5 separate regions of the Homo sapiens genome follow, and all the other regions are linked to region 2. The links are contacts of gene promoters, found by promoter capture Hi-C in human tissues and cell types (Jung and others, 2019). All regions are on one chromosome and are shown on one strand. Each heading gives the region's core, a stretch centred on a gene start or on the middle of the fragment in contact. The rest is flanking DNA. Distances are from core to core; before and after follow the strand shown.

Region 1 (4,162 bases), core at 662-3,161, 180 kb after region 2:
CCTTGTATCTCCCGATTGCATGTATTAGGTTGGTGCAAAAGTAATTGCGGTTTTTGCCATTAGAAGTAATATTTCAGCAAGTGCCCAGAAGCTGAATTTCTGGGTTAGAGTGCATGAATATTTTTAATGCTCTTGAGTCTTGAGAAGTTGCTTTTCTTTCTTTCTTTTTTTTTTTTTTTTTTGAGATGGAGTCTCGCTCTGTCACCCAGGCTGGAGTGCAATGGTGCGATCTCGGCTCACTACAACCTCCACCTCCTGGCTTCAAGCAATTCTCATGCCTTAGCCTCCCGAGTAGCTGAGATTACAGGTGTGTGCCACTGTGCCTGGCTAATTTTTTGTATTTTTAGTAGAGACAGGGTTTCACCATGTTGGCCAGGCTGGTCTCGAACTCCTGACCTCAAGTGATCTGCCCGCCTCAGCCTCCCAAAGTGCTGGGATTACAGGTGTGAGCCACCTCGCCCCGTCGAGAAGCTGCTTTTCAAAGAGTTGTGCCAGTGTACACTCTCACCAGCCACGAGCCAGCCAGTGTGCCCGTTTTCCTGTATTCTTGCCATCTGTGAGCTTGATTAATTTATTTTGGAAATCTTACCAGGTAAAACATGGCATCCCATTTTGCCTTTTTTAGTTGCCAATGTTGGTATGGTTCCTTGCTAGTGGACTTGTCTGTTCATGTCCATTTACCTTTGGGGGAGCCTAATGTCTTACTTATAGATTTGTGTGTATATATATATATATATATATATATATATATATATATATATATATATATATATATATTTTTTTTTTTTTTTTTTTTTTTTTTTTTTTTTTTAAAGAGACAGCCTCTTGGTCTGTCTCCCAGGCTGGAGTGCGGTGGTGTGATCATAGCTCACTGCAGCCTCAAACTCCTGAGCTCAAAGGATCCTCTCACCTCAGCCTCCCAAAGTGCTGGGATTATAGGTGTGGAGCCACCATGCTGGCCTTGTATTAACCCTTTGTCATATTTGCCATCTGAATTTTTCTTAGTCTATTGATTCCTTCATTTAAAAAACAGTTATTGAGAAATGCAAATCAAAACTGCTTCACACACATCAGGATGGCTAACAACAAGTGTTGTGAGGATGTGGAGAAACTGGAATCCTAGTGTACTCTGGGTGGGAATGTGAAATGGTGTGGCTGCTATGGAAGCAGTATGGCAGTTCCTCCAAAAATTAAGATGGCAAATTTTATGTTATGTGTGTTTTTTGTTTGTTTGTTTGTTTGTTTTTGAGACGGAGTCTTGCTCTGTCACCCAGGCTGGAGTGCAGTGGCATGATCTCAGCTCACTGCAAGCTCTGCCTCCTGGGTTCACACCATTCTCCTGCCTCAGCCTCCCGAGTAGCTGGGACTACAGGCGCCCGCCACCACGCCCGGCTAATTTTTTGTATTTTTAGCAGAGACGGGGTTTCACCGTGTTAGCCAGGATGGTCTTGATCTCCTGACCTCGTGATCCGCCCGCCTTGGCCTCCCGAAGTCTTGGGATTACAGGCGTGAGCCACCGCGCCCAGCCTGTTATGTGTTTTTTACAATTAAAATGCTAGGGCCGGGTGCGGTGGCTCACACTTGTAATCTCAGCACTTTGGGAGGCTGAGGCGGGCAGATCACTTGAGGTCAGGAGTTCAAGACCAGCCTGGCCAACATGGCGAAACCCTGTCTCTACTGAAAATACAAACATTAGCCGGTGTGTTGGTGCATGCCTGTAATCCCAGCTATTCCGGAGGCTGAGGTGGGAGAATCACTTGAACCCAGGAGGTGGAGGTTGCAATGAGCCGAGATTTTGCCATTGCACTCCAGCCTGGGTGACAGAGTGATACTCCGTCTCAAAAAAAAAAAGACAGAAAGAAAGAAGAAAAAGAAAAAAAAAAGCTAGAGAACCAGAAAATATCCACTAAAAAGAAAAAAAGATGTTATTGAGTTCTACTTTGTGTTAAATATCTCTGTGTGCTGGCCATGGAGATTATCAAAACAATAAAATGTCAAGGTGCCCATGGTCCATGGGGATGGAAATATACAGAAATCATCACAACATGGTTTCAACTCCGCTCTGAGAGAGGATTGAGTGCCCTGGAGTGCTCAGGGTGGCAGTCAACCCAGGGCAGGTGAAGTGGTCAGGGAAGCTTCCCCGGGGAGCTGAATTGAGGATAAATTAAAGTTAGCCTGGCAAAGCGAGGTGGTCTGATCTGTGATTTCAGTTACGCTTTTATGACATGCACACCATTTAACGCTTGTGCGGGCAAGGCTGTTGACCTTTCTTTTTGTGATTTCTTCCAGAGCTTTTACGCTCGTAAAGCTCCCTTTCCGCAAGAGGTCTGATGATTCCATTTCGTCCTGTTTTCCACAGTTCAATTTATTTTTATATTTAACTCTTTAATCTACCTGGAAATTATTTTGATGATTGGCAGTGGGATGAGACCCTGGTGGAAGGATGAAGAGGCAGAAACAGGAGGAAATGTCTTCATTCTGCTGCCCTTCCTCCTGACTTGGTGGCTCTGGGGCTCCCACGGGTCACCTTCTCCTCTCCCTGTGGTCATTTCAGTGATGGATGAGTGGGATGGCGTGTGGCTGTGGCCCTGGGTGATTGGAGGTGATGGTCCAGTAGACCATGTTGGTCTGAATTAGGAGGGATGCAGAGCAGACTGCTGTGAGGACTTCCGGCGTGGGGACTGGACAGGACAGATGGAGGCATATGTCCCACCGCTCTCTGCCCCTCCCTGCTACCGAAGCACTCGTTCTCCATCCTTGCCCCCTTCCTCCCTCCCTATTGCTAATTTTAGTTCTCTGTTCATCTGTTTGTTTTGGGCTGTGTTCCCTGCTGGACTGTAAGCTCTTAGAGGGCACATGCCATGTCTGTTTTGCTCAGAACAACAGGCACTGGCCTCCTCTCAGTGCCTGGAGCAAGGACTGGCACAGACGAGGGGCCCAGTGAATGTTGGTTGGATGAACAAAGGGAAGAAATGGCCTCTTCATGCCAGCCCCACAGGGGTGTGGCATGTGGGAAGCTGGGAAGAGTGGTCATTCTGAGCTGTCTGCTCCAAGACCTGGAGACAGATTGCTGGATGGGGGACTGAGGATTCAGAACCCCCAGTATGGGTCGACCTCTCAAGGTCTGATCTTCGAGCTGAATTCCATCAGTAGCAGGGAGGCTGAGAGGCTGGGAGTCTCCCCTGCCCAGATGCCTTTTGTAGCTGAAGTCCCAGGGTAGAGGCGATGGGCTGGGCCCAGAGGAATAGGGCTGGGGAGACAGGGCTAGAGTCCTGGAGGCAGCTGCTTCTGATGAAGCTCAGTCTCAGGGGCTCAGAAACATTCATTACAGCCAGGAGGAGAAGTAATTAAGTCAGAGAGCAGCGGCGGGGAGGGAGGGAAGCCCCATTTTCTCAGGAGTCTCCAGGTGCAATTAATAAGGGCAAGGGAGGGGAGAGCTCTGCCCAGTCTGATGATATTGGTAATAGAGACATGGTTTCAGGGCCACGGTCACCATGTCTGTGCTGACCACCAGAGGAGGGGTGGACACAGGGGCCCGAGGAATGTGTTAGCATCTGGCTTCATGAGGCCAGGGCCAGACCGGCCTGAGCTGAGCCCTGGTGTTGCCGTTGACTTGCTGTAGGAACTTGGGCAGGTCGCATAATCTCTCTGAGCCTCAGTTTCCCTATGAGTAATGTGGAGCTAATAATGTGAACCTCATAGGATTGCTGTGGGATTAAATGTAAAATGCTTAGCAGTGTGCTTATCATGCAACAAAACTGGGATGATAGTTAGAGTTGGGATCCCAAAAATAGTTTGTGACAGCTGGTGTTGAGAATCCACGTGTCAGCAGGTATGTGGGCAGAGGGCAGGAACACGCAGGCTGCGCTGACGGTGGCTCCTGGTTTCTGAGTCCTGAGGCAGACAGCAGCCCTGGGAAGGGTATAATGAACCCCTGCTCTGTGTTTTTTTCCCCAATATCTGTGGTCCTTACATGACCTTGCAAGGCTATTATTGTTCTTTCCATTTACAGATGAGGAAACCAGGGCTTGGGAAGGCAAAGTGGCTTGCTGAAAATCAGTGGGCTGTAGAGCTGGAATTTCAGTTCAGGCTTGTCTGGTGCCACAATATTCAAACTCCTTTCCTTTAAGCTGCAAGGCTACAGAACCTTGGGGTGCACAGG
Region 2 (3,779 bases), core at 377-2,876:
GCCCCCAGGCACCTACTGCAAGGACTCGGGGATCGTGCAGAGGTGCAAAGGAGTCGTGCCCTCCTCAGTCAGCACATTAGCCTTGGCTCCGAAGGTCAGCAGCAGCCGCACACAGTCAAACTGGGCTCGGGCACAGGCCTCATGCAAGGCAGCGCGACCCCCGACACGGGCATCCAGCTCAGCTCCCTGCCGGATCAGGTGTCGAGCACAGTCTGTGTAGCCTCGGGCTGTAGCGATGGCGAGGGGTGCCGTCTGCTTGGTCTTGGGGGTCAGCACCCAGAACCCTAGGGAGAGCAAATAGTTTTGGGAGGTGGTGTATAAGACAGGGCAGGGCAGGGAGTGGGGATGCTGGTTCCAGCTGACAGCTGACACTGGCCTTCCCTCTGCATGGTTTGCTGAGCACAAACACTGCCAGGCTGTACCTGTGGAAGGGGGCTTATTCAAGTCCTGAAGTGGAAGAATAAATTGGAACAGCCTTTTAATACAGCTTATCAATCTGTAACAAAACATAGTATGTGTCATAAAAAAATTAATTGCTGTATAAAACCACAGGGGCCAACTAAGTAGAGTGACTCCCATTAAGGAAATCTCAGCGTCTTTGAATGGCTAATAGTGTCAAAGGCTTGTTCACCTTGGGGCCTGGGGTGGTGGCTCACACCTGTAATCCTAGCACTTTGGGAGGCCAAGGCGGGATGATCACTTGACCTCAGGAGTTCGAGATGAGCCTGGGCAACATAGTGAGACCTTGTCTCTTTTTTTTTTTTTTTTAGGCAGGGTCTCGCTCTGTCCCCCAGGCTGGAATGCAGTGGCGCTATCTTGGCTCACTGCAAGCTCCGCCTCCCGGGTTTAAGTGATTCTTCTGCCTCAGCTGCTGAGTAGCTGGGATTACAGGTGCGCACCACCATGCCCGGCTAATTTTTCTATTTTTAGTAGAGATGGGGTTTTACCATGTTGGTCAGGCTGGTCTCAAACTTCTGACTTCGTGATCCGCCTGCCTTGGCCTCCCAAAGTGCTGGGATTACAGGCGTGAGCCACTGTGCCCGGTCAACTTTTAATTCTTAAAAGACATACAGACTGCTAACCCTGCCTCATCTCTGTTTAGGAGGGAGCTAGGATAGGTGGTGGAAAGGGCTGCTATAGTCTGTGGTCTGCAGGGAAGGAGGGGCCTAGACTCTCCCCCTTCCCCACCCACTCCCCTTCTTTCTCCCTCCTCTTCTGCCCTCTTCTGGTGCCCCCTACCCTGTTCAGCCGACCAGGCCAGCTGGTTGCTCACAGTCTCCACAATCATGTTGGCGGCCTCTTCATCTTGGAACAGGGCTTGGACCTGCTGCAGGTTGCCGGAGAAGAGGGCTTGGTGGACAGCTGGGTCTCGGCAGGAACGGTGAGGCCTAGTGAGTCGGGCCCGGGGACTTGACGGGCACCTGCGGCTCCGGCACTGCTGGGCAGCCGCCCGCCGCCGGTCCTCCCATTCCAGCCACTCCTGCTGCAGGCGGAGAGAGCGCAGCATGGAGGAGGTGAAGGGGAAGGTCTCTCTTGCCATGGATGGGGCCCAGGGGTTTGGGCAGTGGCACCTGGGCAGAGCCAGGTTCCCTCGACCCGACTACCTCCCTTGCTCTGAGGAGCCACCCTGCCCCCGCCACCGTGAGCCAGAGAAAGCAGCAGCTGAGGCTATAAATAGGTCCTTTGCTGCTCTGGTAAACATGGTTTGCTCAGAGTCATGATCCTGGTGCTGAGAAGCTGCTGGCCCAACCCCCAGCCCAGGGTGAGGGCCAGCCCCTGCCCCTGCCGATACCCTTTGGTTGGTCAGCAGGCCCTCAGCTGAGGCCACCCCCGAACCCCAGCATCTGCATCCACCTTCATCTCTAGAGCGAGCATCTTGGGTTGGCAAGGTCCAGGGTGCGCAAAAAGGTCAGTCATGGAGATGGGCAGGGCTGGGAGGAAGACAAGGTGCCTCCAGCCTCTCTGATGTTGGCTGGAGGGCAGGAGCCACCATTGGCCCACGTGGAGGAGAGAGGGCTGACCTCAGCACAGGAGGTAAGGGGAGGTCAAGGCAGAGTTACTGAGAAGGTGAGCAGCTCTTCCCAGCATCTGCAGTAACAGCAATAACTCTGTACATATGCACAGAGTTTCACGGTGTTTAAATCACATTCATATCCACCTTCACCCAGGGGATCATACTTCCCAGCCCACCCAATAATTAGTAAACTTGGTTTGGACAATAAATGAAATTATCACAGTTGAATGCCCCTGAGATGGGTGGTCTTATCTCTGTTTTACAGATGAGGAATTTAAGGCTTAACAAAGTAATCTACTGGCTCAAGGTCACAGTTTGTGAGAGGCAGAGCCAGGACCCCACATAGATGGTGTGCTTTGGGCCAAGAATGGTGGCTCATGCCTGTAATCCTAGCACTTTGGGAGGCCAAGACAGGAGGATTGCTTGAGCCTAGGAGTTTGAGACAATCCTGGGCAACACAGTGAGACCTATATCTTTTTTTTTTTTTTTTTTTTTTTTGAGACAGAGTCTCACCCTGTCTCCCATGCTGGAGTGCAATGGCACGATCTTGGCTCACTGCAACCTCCGCCTCCCGGGCTCAAACGATTCTCTTGCCTCAGCCTCCTGAGTAGCTGGGATTATAGGCACCCGCCACCATGCCCAGCTAAATTTTGTATTTTTAGTAGAGATTTAATTTAGGGTTTCACCATGTTGGCCAGGCTGGTCTCGAACTCCTGACCTCGTGGTCTGCCCGCCTCGGCCTCCCAAAGTGCTAGGATTATAGGCGTGAGCCACCACCCCCTGCCTCTCCATCTCTTAAAAAAAGAAGAAAAAAAAAAAAAGATGGTACACTTTTTGCCTTCAGCTGCTGCAGCCACCTGGCAGCCTCCCCCATTCTCCAAGCAGGACAGACTAGTCTGTAGAAACTGCCTTCAATCATCCTTTTTTTTTTTTTCTCATGGTGTCACCCAGTCTGGAGTGCAGTGGGGTGATCTCGGCTCACTGAAACCTCCGTTTCCTGGGGTTCAAGTGATTCTCCTGCCTTAGCTGCCTGAGTAGCTGGGATTATAGGTGCATGCCACCATGCCCAGCTGATTTTTGTATTTTTATTTATTATTATTTTTTTTTTGAGATGGAGTCTCGCTCTGTCACCCAGGCTGGAGTGCAGTGGCGCGACCTCGGCTCACTGCAAGCTCCGCCTCCCGGGTTCACGCCATTCTCCTGCCTCAGCCTCCCGAGTAGCTGGGACCACAGGCGCCTGCCACCACACCTGGCTAATTTTTTGTATTTTTAGTAGAGACAAGGTTTCGCCGTATTAGCCAAGAATAGGATGGTTTCGATCTCCTGACCTCGTGATCCGCCCGCCTCGGCCTCCCAAAGTGCTGGGATCACAGGCGTGAGCCACCGCGCCCGGCCGATTTTTGTATTTTTAGTAGTCGGTTTCGCCATGTTGGCCAGGCTGGTCTGAAACTCCTGACTTCAGGCGATCTGCCCGCCTCGGCCCCCCAAAGTGTTGGTATTACAGGCGTGAGCCACAGCTCCCAGCACCTTCAATCATCCTTGATTTATTTTTTTAACCCAGCTGCTAAGGGGGCTCACATGGCCGGCCTGAGGAGAGCCAAGGGGTTGAGCTGGAAACTCTGGGAATGGACCTAAGATGTTTAAGCCACAGACCTGTTCACTCTTAGGAGAAAGCAGCTGTGCTTCCAGGAGCCTCTAGGGGGAGGAATGAAGCCGTGAAACCACACAAGCTGGTGTGCCTGCCAAGCTGGGGAAGGGGAGGGCT
Region 3 (3,794 bases), core at 1,295-3,794, 150 kb after region 2:
CAGGGGCCAGGCCACCCACCCATCCCCCTCTTCTGGCCTGATAGCATGCCAGCATCTGTCCCAACCCTAGAAATGAGGATTTGGCCCCAGGTCCTTCCCTTCTCAGTATCCCTCTGGGAAAGAGGAAAGAGCAGGAAAAGGTAGAGAGGGACTTCAGCCCTGAGAAGGGGCGCAGTGGGTACCAAGGCAAGCTTCCTCAATCCAATCTTCCCCTCCCCCTGACACAAGTCCCTGGCCACTGCTGCTGGAGACTTGATTGGAAACTGCTTGCTAAGGTTATGATGGGAGGGTGGGGCATTGTGCCTATAGGGACAACCCAGGCAGACTCCTAGGACTATTTTATGGACATGTTGTACACAATCCTGGTTCTGGTCCTCGTCAACACTTTAGGGCTGTACACCTCAGCCATTTGAAACGGAGAGGTGAGGAGACTGGAAAAATAAAACCAACTGGAAAGTTGATTCTGTACTATGTGCCTATATTGTGGTAAAGGAAATTTGTTTTGTGTGGTTGTCACTGGTGGGTAGAGATAGACAAAATTACCTTTAACCCAGACTTTTTCTCATTCTCCTTGCCTAGAGACCTCCCCACCCTCCAACATACACGTATACAATCTCATTCCCTAGTTCTTTGCATCTATATGTTCCTCTCTCGTGTTTTTTTACTTTTTAGAGATGGGGGTCTTGCTTTGTCACCCAGGGTGGAGTGCAGTAGTGCAATCATAGCTCAATGCAGCCTCAAACTCCTCGAGGAATCCTCTTGCCTCAACCTCCTGAGTAGCTGGATTACAGATGTGGGCCACCATGCCTGGCTTCTCATGGTCTTTCTGATTTACCCAGACCTTATCCTAGTGACTGTGTTTGTTTATTTATGAGATAGAGTCTTGCTCTGTCATCCAGCCTGGAGTGCAGTGGTGCGATCTCGACTCACTGCAACTACCTCCTCCCAGGTTCAAGCGATCCTTCTGCCTCAGCCTCCTGAATAGTTGGGATCACAGGCTCCCGCCACCATGCCCAGCTAATTTTTAGTAGAGATGGGGTTTTGCCATGTTGGCCAGGCTGGTCTCGAACTTCTGGCCTCAAGTGATCCACCCGTGCCTCTGCCTTCCAAAGTTCTGGGATTACAGGTGTGAGCCACCATGCCCGACCCTAGTGGCCGGTTTAAAATGAAATGTGAAAAGGGGTTTTATTGCCCACCTTTCACTGGCTGGTTGGGAATTTTTTTTTTTTTTTGAGACAAGAGTTTCGCTCTTGTCGCCCAGGCTGGAGTGCAATGGCGCGAACTTGGCTCACTCCAACCTCCGTCTCCCAGATTCAAGCAATTCTCCTGCCTCAGCCTCCCAAGTAGCTGGAATTACAGGTGCCTCCCACCATGCCTGGCTTTTTTTTTTTTTTTTTTTTTTTGAGATGTTGTCTCACCTTGTCACCCAGGCTGGAGTGCAGTGGCGCGATCTCGGCTCACTGTAAGCTCTGCCTCCTGTGTTCACGCTATTCACCTGCCTCAGCCTCCCGAGTAGCTGGGACTGCAGGCGCCTGCCACCACTCCTGGCTAATTTTTTTTGTATTTTTAGTAGAGACGGGGTTTCACTGTGTTAGTCAGGATGGTCTCGATCTCCTGACCTCGTGATCCTTGGCCTCCCAAAGTGCTGGGATTACAGGCATGAGCCACCGTGCCCAGCCTAATTTTTTGTATCTTTAGTAGAGATGGGTTTTCACCATGTTGGCCACGCTGGTCTCGAACCCCTAACCTCAGGTGATCCAACCCCCCACTTGGCCTCCCAAACTGCTGGGATAATAGGCGTGAGCCACCACACCCGGCCTGGTGGGAATTTTTTTTTTTTTTTTGAGACAGAGTCTCTCAATCTGTCGCCCAGGCTGGAGTGCAGTGGCGTGATCTCGGCTCACTGCAAGGTCCGCCGCCCAGGTTCAAGCGATTCTCCTGCCTCAGCCTCCCAAGTAGCTGGGACTACAGGCGCCCGGAGTAGCTGGGATTACAGCCATCACGTCTGGCTAATTTTTGTATTTTTAGTAGAGACGGGGTTTCACCATCTTGGCCAGGCTGGTCTTGAACTCCTGACCTCGTGATCCACCCGACTCGGCCTCCTAAAGTGCTGGGATCACAGGCGTTAGCCACCGCGCCCAGCCCAACACCTTTTCATTTATCTGTACAGCACATATTTCCTGAGGGCATCCTGTATACTAGGTCCTGAGGGCATCCTGTATACTACAGATGGTTCCCAGCATTGGAGTTTTCAACTTTACATTGGTGCGAAAGCAGATCTGCATTCAGTGGAAACTGTATTTCTCTTACAATGCTGGGCAGTGTCAGCAAGCCACAGCTTCCAGTCAGCCACACATTTTCAACTTACAGTATTTTCAACCTATGATGGGTTTATCAGGATATAACTCCATCACAAGTCAAGGAGCATCTGTAAACAGTAAACAGAAACCCAGGCACCGTGTTTGTGCTTAGGGAGCTTGCGATCTAGTAGGGGAAGATTGTCAATAAAACAATCACAAATATATTGGCTGGGTGCGGTGTCTCACGCCTGTAATCCTAGCGCTTTGGGAGGCCAAGGCGGTTGGATCGCTTGAGGTTAGGAGTTCGAGAGCAGCCTGGCCAACATGGTGAAACCCTGTCTCCACTAAAAATAAAAATTAGCCGGGTGTGGTGGCAAGCGCCAGTAATCCCAGCTACTTGGGAAGCTGAGGCAGGAGAATCGCTTGAACCTGGGAGGTGTAGGCTGTAGTGAGCCAAGATCGCACCACTGCACTCCAGCCTGGGTGACACAGTGAGACCCTGTCTCAAAAATAAAAAAAAAGCATATATATGTAAAGCAGATATATATATATGTGTGTGTGTGTGTGTGTGCGTGTGTATCTATATCTATCTATCTATCTAATTGCCACCGTGCCAAGTGATTCAAAGGAAGGTAGCTGATGTTATGAGAACATATAAACGGGTGGGGCGTGGGAGAAGGGGCTGAGAACACACTGGAGGGGAATGCAGAGACCACCTGGATGTCTGCTGCAATTAAACTGACAAAGTATGACAATTTGGGTTACAGCGGGAGCATGGCAGCTGGAGAAATGGACTGACTTGAGATGTCCCAGATGTTCAGATCTCCTTTTTCTCTCAGGGCACAGGCAAAAGGCAAACCCAAAGAGGTGACTTTGAGCCAGGAGGACCCCTTACTTTGATCTTAACAGAAACGGGGGTTTCCTCTGGTGCGTTATGTGTATCATTTATTGAACCACTACTATGTACTAGGACCGACCTTGTCACATTTAAAGTTCACAACTCTGGCCTGGCGCGGTGGCTCATGCCTGTAATCCCAGCACTTTGGGAGGCCGAGGCGGGCGGATCACGAAGTCAGGAGATCGAGACCATCCTGGCTAAGACGGTGAAACTCCGTCTCTACTAAAAATACAAAAAATTAGCCGGGCGTGGTGGCGAGAGCCTGTAGTCTCAGCTACTCAGGAGGCTGAGGCAGGAGAATCGCTTGAACCCAGGTTGCGGAGGTTACAGTGAGCCAAGATCGTGCCATTGCACTCCAGCCTAGGCGACAGAGTGAGACTCCGTCTCAAAAACAAAACAAAACAAAAAAAAAAGAAAAAAAAAGTTCACAACTCTGAGGTAGGTGTAATTATCCCCATTTCATGATGAGTCTCATAAAGTTTAGGTGATGTGCCCAGAATCACACAGGGTTGGAATCAGGATTAGGGCCCTGATCGGGCTGCATTCAAAGACCAGTTTGCTTCAATACATCATACTACGGTCCAAGACTTCTGCTA
Region 4 (4,116 bases), core at 1,563-4,062, 220 kb after region 2:
CACAGTGCTTCTGGCCCTGCTCGTCTGCCTAGGGGCGCTGGTCGACGCCTACCCCATCAAACCCGAGGCTCCCCGCGAAGACGCCTCGCCGGAGGAGCTGAACCGCTACTACGCCTCCCTGCGCCACTACCTCAACCTGGTCACCCGGCAGCGGTGAGCGCAGGCGCGGAGCGGGACCCCTGGGGCTCTCACCCTGCGGCCCCGCTCCACCTGGGGGCGTGGCCAGATCTGACCACGCTCTTCCCTTCCCCGCCCCCAGGTATGGGAAAAGAGACGGCCCGGACACGCTTCTTTCCAAAACGTTCTTCCCCGACGGCGAGGACCGCCCCGTCAGGTCGCGGTAAAAGCGCCCGTTACCACACATCCTGCATCCGAGAGCGCGGCCTGGCCCTACCCTGGCAACATCACTTAACGACGTCTCCCAGGCTCGCCTCCCCAGATCCAATTCCTTCCCCTTCGCTTCCGCAGGTCGGAGGGCCCAGACCTGTGGTGAGGACCCCTGAGGCCTCCTGGGAGATCTGCCAACCACGCCCACGTCATTTGCATACGCACTCCCGACCCCAGAAACCCGGATTCTGCCTCCCGACGGCGGCGTCTGGGCAGGGTTCGGGTGCGGCCCTCCGCCCGCGTCTCGGTGCCCCCGCCCCCTGGGCTGGAGGGCTGTGTGTGGTCCTTCCCTGGTCCCAAAATAAAGAGCAAATTCCACAGAAACGGAATGTATGCCTTTGTATTTCCTTTCCTTTCTCCTTCGTGGAGGTGGCATCCCGTAGAAGTGGAGGGTGGAGGCGTGGGGGCCAGGGAAGAGAAAACCGACTTGGACAGAGGCGCCCCAGGACAAGGCTGGGGCGGGCTGCGGAGTTCCCTCTGCTCGGAGCCCAGGGAAGACTCGACCACCCAGCCTGGAGCTGGACAGCGCCCAGGCCAGGAACTGCTGTGGAAGGAACTCTGGTCGAGTGGGGGCAGGAGTGGATGGAACTCTGGAAGAAGGGGCGGGGAGCGGCGACAGGAGCCTGCTAGGCAGCCTAGGAGAGCAGATGGGGTCAGGGCTGTCCCTCCCCCACCCCGTGAAGCCGAAGACGGCTGGGGGACGAGTCGGGCACCAACACCCCGGGGCGTTTCCCCAGGAGCTGTAGTACTAGCGCCCAGGGCTGGAGTGGCTGGAGGTGAAGTGTAATCCAAAATGGGGCTGTGGAGGAAGAGCCGTGTGGGGGTGAGATGGCTGTACGTGTGCTGGCCGGAGAGGCAGGCCATTTCTACCGTCCCCCTTTCCCTGAGTAGAGGAGCAATGGGAGTGTGGAGGCTGCCCTATCCCTAAGAAACCTCCCTCCCCAATCTCGCTGAATTCACACGCAGTGGATAAGTCACGAACTGTTCTTTCTTAGTGACAAGGCCATAGGGACACCCTCCATGTACCCCCCTCCCCTGGACTAGCTACTGAAGCCTAAAGGCTCTGTGGATGTTTAAACTGGAATCCAACTCGAATCCCTCACCACTCTGTACCTATTCCAGAGCCTGCCTGCAGACTGATCTCCCCTGACATCCACCCTTCCCTGCCCCTTTCCTCCAAGAAGCTTGCCTTGATTGCCCAATTGCACTCTTCCTGCCCTCTCTAACTGCCCAGCTCTCAGGGCCTCTGCTCTGTTCACTGAGAGTTCTATGTCTCTGTGTCCTGTCTCCCTCCTGGGGCCTCAAGAAGGAAGGGCCTATGTCTCCTTCCTGGGACACAGCCTCCTGTATCTGTGGGCTCTCTTCTGGGACTCCAGTTCAGCAAGACCTGCCCAAATCTGAAGCAGGGCACTAGGAGATGAGGGGGGAAATCAGGTTGACTTCAAAACCTGTGACCCAGAGAGGGGAAAAACGACAGGAAGGCTGGGGGCATCCTTGCAGCGGATCAGGGGTTTTTTTGTTTTGTTTTTTGTTTTAGAGATGGAGTTTTTGCTTTTGTCGCCCAGGCTGGAGTGCAGTGGTGCGATCTTGACTCACTCCAACCTCCACCTCCTGGGTCCAAGTGATTCTCCTGCCTCAGCCTCCCGAGTAGCTGGGACTACAGGTTCTCACCACCACACCTAGCTAATTGTTGTATTTTTGGTAGAGACGGGGTTTCACCGTGTTGGCCAGGATGGTCTCAATCTCCTGACCTCGTGATCTGCCTGCTTCGGCCTCCCAAAGTGCTGGGATTACAGGCGTGAGCCACCGCGCCTGGGCTGGATCAGGGTTTTTAAGGAGTATTTGCAGTTCAATGGTTCTGGAAGGAGAGAAGACTCTAAAGCTGACTCTGCCATAGCTGCAGAGAAGTTCCCTGCTTGGACACAGGTCCCTTGGGGGCCACAGGGCTCTGACACCCACCCTCCCCTGTGCTGCCCTCCAGCCTCCCTGGAGGTAGAGCTGAAAGGATGAGGCAGAGGAGGCAGGTGGAGGTCACTGGCTATGTGGATTCTGATGCTCTGCGCCTTTGCCCAGGCCACTTTACCTCCTTGCAGAGCCCTTTCCCTCTCTTAAGCCTGGAAGATACTCTCAGGATAGTGGTCACCTCCTCCTGGAAGCCTTGCCTGATTTCTTGGGGATGGAGTTAGTTTCTTTGACTCCCTCTCCCCACTCATTATCTTAGACCCACTTTCCATCCTATTTTGCCTCCTGTCTTCTCTCCTGCAACAGGACAGGTGGGACGAGAGCACACAGTGGCTGCCCTGAGCTTTGGTTCATTGTGTGGGTGGGGAGTGGGAGGATGTGTCTGTGTGTTGGTGTCCATGATCCCCTGTCTATTGGTCTGCCTGGGAGAGCTATAGTCAGTTTAAGGCGGATGGAAGAGAGACCTGGTATGAGTTAGGCATGACCACAGACAATTTCTGCCCAGCTTGACATGTCTCATTGACCATCAGTGACATGGGTCCACCTCATGTTCATTTTGAGGAGTGTTGAGCAGTTTAGGGTAATAACATTATTAATAATTATTATTAGTATAATAATAATGACAATAGCAATAATTATTTTTTCCAAAAAGCACTTATTTATGTGCGAGACACTGAGCTGTTTGTTTTACATATATCATATTACTAGGATATTGATTTGGCTTAAAAAAAAAACAGGTGGAATTAACAGTGGCTTAAACAAGATGGAAATTTATTTCTCTTGCATGAAATGTGAGTGGCACGTGGGGAGTTGGCAGTTGTGCTCCATGAGGGCATCCAAGAGCCCAGGCTCCTCGTTTGTGGCTTCCCCATGCCCTCATCTATGTCATTTACAGGACTGAAGACAGCCCACCATGGCCTCATCTGTGTTCCGGCCAGTGGCAAGGGAGGGAAGGGGAAGGTAAGCACTCTGGTTACTATGTTGTATAATAAGTTACCCTAAAACTTGGCAGCTTCAAGCAACCATTGTACATCACTCAGGATTTTGTGGGTCAGGATCAGGAAGTGCTCCCCCTGGCAGTTCTTGCTTTGAGTCTCACATGCGGATACTATCAGAGGTTGGCAGGGTTGTGGTTAAGGATCCACTGGGCTGATGCCTGAGAAGGCTCATTCGCATGCTAGTGCTGGCTGTTGAGTTCAGCCGGGGCTGTTGACCATTGTACCTACATGTGGCCTCCCCAGTCTGATATTCTTGGGGTAGTTGGACTTAAATGGTAACTGGTCTCCTGCTTGGAGTATTTAAAGAGAATCAGATGAAGATGGCATTGCTGGTTAGTTTGCTAGGGCTGCCATAACAAAGAATCACAGACTGGGTGGTTTAAACAACAGTTCCTGTGGCTAGCAGTCTGAAATGAAGGAGTTGGCAGGTTGATTCCTTCTGATCTGTTCCAGGCCTCTCTCCTTGCCTTGAAGATGGGTGTCTGAGCTGTGCCTCTTCACATCATCTTCCCTCTTTGCATGGCTGTTTCTGTGTCTAAATTTCCCCTTTTCAAAGGCGAACAGTCCTATAGGATTAGGGGTTCACACACTGTAGTATGACCTCATCATTTTTTTTTTTTTTTTGAGATGGAGTCTCGCTCTGTCGCCCAGGCTGGAGTGCAGTGGCATGATCTAGGCTCACGACAACCTCCGCCTCGCGGGTTCAAGCGATTCTCCTGCCTCAGGCTCTGGAGTAGCTGAGACTACAGGCACGCGCCACCACACCCGG
Region 5 (3,727 bases), core at 1,007-3,506, 250 kb after region 2:
ACTTGGGAAACCGCTGCTGAGGTCCTTGCAGCCCCACAGTCCCCAGGCTGGTGACTGGTGGGGGAGTATGGAGTCCAGCTGATCACCAGAGGCCTGCACGCCTGCTGCTACGGGGGAAGAAAGGATGACTTCTACCTCCTTTCCACATTCCAAATTCCATGTGACTACATTTTATTGGCAGCACCCTGCTGGCAAGCGAGCCTTGATGTGTGCTTCCTGGGCTCCGGCACCTGCACAGAAAGGGCTGAAATTGGTAGGTGTTTGGGTGTCCGAGGGTTTGCAAAAGAAGAAGGCATGGAGTCTATGGTGGAGTCACATGGTGGAGATCTAGCTAAGTCAGAGGCCTGGAGAGGTGTCATTCTAGCTGGGCGGCAGGTGACACACAATCATCCCGAGTTGATTGGAAAAACACCTGGGATTGACCCGGAGTTTGTTCTGGAATGTTTTCACTGGAATGAAAGCTGAGCGGTCCGCAGGCCATATAGTATTGGAGAAAACATAGCCCTCATTCAAAAAGGCTGCCAGAGAAAAGGTGTCCACAAGGAAATTCAGGGGTTTTGTTTGTTTGTTTTGGGATTTTTTCTGGAGACAGTCTCACTCTGTCACCCAGGCTGGAGTGCAGTAGTGTGATCTCAACCTCCACCTTCCAGGTTCAAGTGATTCTCCTGCCGTAGCCTCCCAAGTAGCTTGGATTACAGGCACCCACCACCACACCCAGCTGATTTTTATTTTTATTTTTTGTAGAAACAAGATTTCACCATGTTGGCCAGGCTGGTCTTGAACTCCTGACCTCAAGTGATCCTCCTGCCTTGGCCTCCCAAAGTGCTGGGATTACAGGTGTGAGCCACCACGCCCAGCCAGGAAATTCAGTTTCTGAAAATACACCTGTGGATCTCTAGCCTTGAACATCCTTGTGTGCTGCTTTAAATGGCTGATCCTCAATGCCTCCCTTCCAACTCACACACGCTCGCTCCCCTACATCAATCTCCCAGAAAAAGGAACCTATTTTATTCTTTTCTTTTCTTTTTTTTTTTTTTTTTTTTTTTTAGAGACAGGCCTCACCTTGTTGCCCAGGCTGGTTTTGAACTCCTGGCCTCAAGTGATCCTCCGGCCTTGGCCTCCCAAGTTACTGAGTTCACAGGCGCGAGCCACCACGACCAGTGAAGCCTATATTAAGCCCTTTTATGCTCACTCTGCGATACTGCAGAGAGGGCAGGGAGGAAGCAGAGGTGCCCTGGCATCTTCAGCTGGCGGTGAGCAGGGCGCTGAGGGTGGGAGAGGCCGGGCGCCTGGGGATGGGAGGCAGGACCGCACCTTCACAGGGATGCTGCCACCCTACCCCGGAGGTCAGGGCCTCTCGCCCAGCTCTGGCTCTGAGGTCCTGGAGGGAGGGAGATGCTGTTGCGACTCAGAAGATCAGGGGAGGGCCACCCCCATTCGAGAAAAGTGAAAATCCTGAGCCTGAAGCAGAAGTGGAGACGGTTGGAGCGGAGGCTTCAGAGGGTGGCGTTGGGAAGAGGGTCTGGCGCCGCCGTGTGGACTGTTCGGGCTCACGGGGCTGAAGGCTCCGAAGACCGAGACCTGTGAACCGTGGGGAGGCTCCATGCGGATGGGGGCCACAGCCCCCGCCGGAGCCCCCACACTAGCCCTGGACTTCTCCACCGGCTTACGACATGATAGCTCAATAAGCTCCTTATTTAACGCACTGTTGTATCAGGTCCCTGTCGCAGCCACTGGCCCTATAGCCTAATAAAGGAGCGGGTGCACGCATTGGATTGGTGAGCTACCGCCACAGCAACAAGTCCTAATCAACCATCCCAAACGGTGGCTGGAACAAGGTTCTCGCAGGCCTGTGCTTGGGCTTGAACGCTGGGCCGGCCGCTGCGCTCTGTGGCTCCCTGCAGACCTGCGGATCGGCCAGGGGGCTCCGATCCTTTTGGGCCGTGGCTGAAGAAGCAGCGGCTGCACCAGAGAAGTCCTTCTGGGTGAAGGTGGAAGCGCACAGGGACCGCGGAACCGCCCAAGGCGTCTTCCGGCGTAGGCTCAGAACTGGCAGGCTTTCGTTTCTGCTTCATTCCATGGCCAGAGCAAGCCACGTGGGCAAGCCCGAAACCAGGGGGCGGGAAAGTACCCTCCACCCACAAGGAAACCATGGCAAGCGGTGGTTGCAGGTAGGGCTGAGGAATTGGGGCCGATAGTTCTATCTATCCCGGTGAGTGAGGAGACCTGCTTTGGGGGTTGCACAGTCTGGGTCTGCCCTTGCAGTGGTATCTGTCTCTGTGAAGACTCCACCACGGGTCGCCATCAGGTCAGAGACCCTGACAAGGTAAGAATTTGCATTTTCCTCTGCACACAACCCTGTTCCCTTCCCCTCCGCATGCCTAACACAACACTCCCTTCCCCCCCATGCCTAACAGAGAGAAAGGAGAGAGACAGTTCTTGAGCCCGGTTCTTCCTGCTTGAGCTTGGTGTGTCAACCAAAAGAGTCAAACTCTGTAAAATATTTGAAGGGATTTATTTTGAGCCTACTATGCATGACCAATGGCCCATGACAGCCTTCAGCAGATCCTGAGAACATGTGCCCAAGGTGATCAGGCCACAACTTGGTTTTATGTGTTTCAGGGAGACATCGGACATCAATAATATATGCGACATGTACAGTGGTTTGATCTGGAAAGGCTGGACAACTGGAATGGGGTTGGGGAAGTGGACGACTTCCAGGTTATAAGTAGATCGAAAGATTTTCTGATTGGCAATTGGTGGAAAGAGTTAAATTACTGTCTAAAGACTTAAAATCAACAGAAAGGAATGTTTGGGTTAAGATAAGAGATTGTGGAGACCAAGGTTTTATCACGCAGGTGAAGCCTCCAGGTGGCAGGCTTCAGAGAGAATAGACTGTAAATGTTTCCTTTCAGACTTAAAGAGTCTGTTCTATCAGTAAGTCCAAAAGGAGGGATCGTATAATTAGGCATGACTGGGCTCCCCTTCCCATCATGGCCTGAACTAGTTTTCAGGTTAACTTTGGAATGCCCTTTGCTGAGTGGAGAGGAGGAGTCCATTCAGATGGTTGGGTGAGCTTAGAATTTTATGTTTGGGTTTCAGTTGGCATCCAGTATCCCTTCCCCCAAGTTTGGGGCCCCTCCCAAAGGAGATAGGCCTGGGTCTCTCCTCACATCCTTGGGGGTCTCAGAACTGCAGACTCAAACCTTTTGCCTCAAGGAATCCCTTTGATGATTTGCATAAACCCTTGGGAGGCTGCAGGGGGGCTGCTCTGGAGCTGAGACACAGCGAGTCAATCTCCCTCCATCCCCCTTTTGTCTTGTTCTCACCCTGAGGCTGCAGGCCTCAAGTTTTTTGGCTGGATTCTTCCCAAAGCAGGTTGGGGGTGCAGGTACTGTAATCACCTGATGGGTTCTTCCTGCCTACTGCACAGACAAAACCAATCCACTGAGACCATGGCATTGCAGTAAAGAAAGAGTAATTGACACAAGGCCGGGCACACAGGAAATAGTTATTACTCAAATCGGTCTCCCCCAAAACTTGAAGATTAGTTTTTCAAAGATAGTTTGGTGGGCAGGGTCTAGGGTAGGGTAGAGGTGCTGCTGATTGGTTGGGCATGCAGATATAGGGGTATGGAAAATGGTCCTTGAATGCTGAGTCTGCTTCTGGTTGGCAGCCACAGGACTGGTTGAGTCACGAGTCTCGATGGAGCCAGAAATGCATAAAG

The links. Contacts are between HindIII fragments. The study calls those that stand out against the background at their distance.
Region 1: a contact is called between a fragment that was not itself captured here and the fragment with the promoter of ASB16 in region 2, in 2 of the 25 tissues and cell types used here (lymphoblastoid cells and mesendoderm cells).
Region 3: a fragment that was not itself captured here is called in contact with the fragment with the promoter of ASB16 in region 2 in 2 of the 25 tissues and cell types used here (lymphoblastoid cells and mesenchymal stem cells).
Region 4: a contact is called between a fragment that was not itself captured here and the fragment with the promoter of ASB16 in region 2, in 1 of the 25 tissues and cell types used here (lymphoblastoid cells).
Region 5: a contact is called between the fragment with the promoter of FAM215A here and the fragment with the promoter of ASB16 in region 2, in 1 of the 25 tissues and cell types used here (aorta).

Annotation. Positions count from the first base shown.
Region 1 is chr17:43,986,459-43,990,620 of GRCh38, reverse strand. It overlaps a transcript of PYY not described here. Among named protein-coding and RNA genes, the nearest start is that of NAGS, 16 kb to the left of the region's middle. The HindIII fragment of the contact is 7,936 bases long and covers 1-4,162 here.
Region 2 is chr17:44,168,551-44,172,329 of GRCh38, reverse strand. It overlaps ASB16 (ankyrin repeat and SOCS box containing 16), which reads right to left and starts at 1,626. Exons shown (of 5, transcript NM_080863.5): 1 at 1,240-1,626; 2 at 17-284. The coding sequence starts at 1,540. The HindIII fragment of the contact is 17,920 bases long and covers 1-2,019 here.
Region 3 is chr17:44,015,203-44,018,996 of GRCh38, reverse strand. It overlaps a transcript of TMEM101 not described here. Among named protein-coding and RNA genes, the nearest start is that of TMEM101, 2.1 kb to the right of the region's middle. RefSeq lists a silencer at 2,062-2,356 and an enhancer at 3,692-3,794. The HindIII fragment of the contact is 5,030 bases long and covers 30-3,794 here.
Region 4 is chr17:43,949,333-43,953,448 of GRCh38, reverse strand. PYY (peptide YY) reads left to right here. Exons shown (of 4, transcript NM_001394028.1): 2 at 1-153; 3 at 260-340; 4 at 469-716. The coding sequence ends at 493. Among named protein-coding and RNA genes, the nearest start is that of PYY, 2.5 kb to the left of the region's middle. RefSeq lists an enhancer at 1-474. The HindIII fragment of the contact is 8,547 bases long and covers 1-4,116 here.
Region 5 is chr17:43,915,737-43,919,463 of GRCh38, reverse strand. FAM215A (family with sequence similarity 215 member A) reads right to left here and starts at 2,256. Exons shown (of 1, transcript NR_026770.1): 1 at 1,477-2,256. LOC105371787 (a long non-coding RNA gene) reads left to right here and starts at 2,240. Exons shown (of 2, transcript XR_001752898.2): 1 at 2,240-2,326. It overlaps LOC107985086 (a long non-coding RNA gene), which reads right to left and starts at 617. Exons shown (of 2, transcript XR_001752899.2): 1 at 1-617. RefSeq lists enhancers at 792-1,612, 1,613-2,434. The HindIII fragment of the contact is 7,093 bases long and covers 1-3,727 here.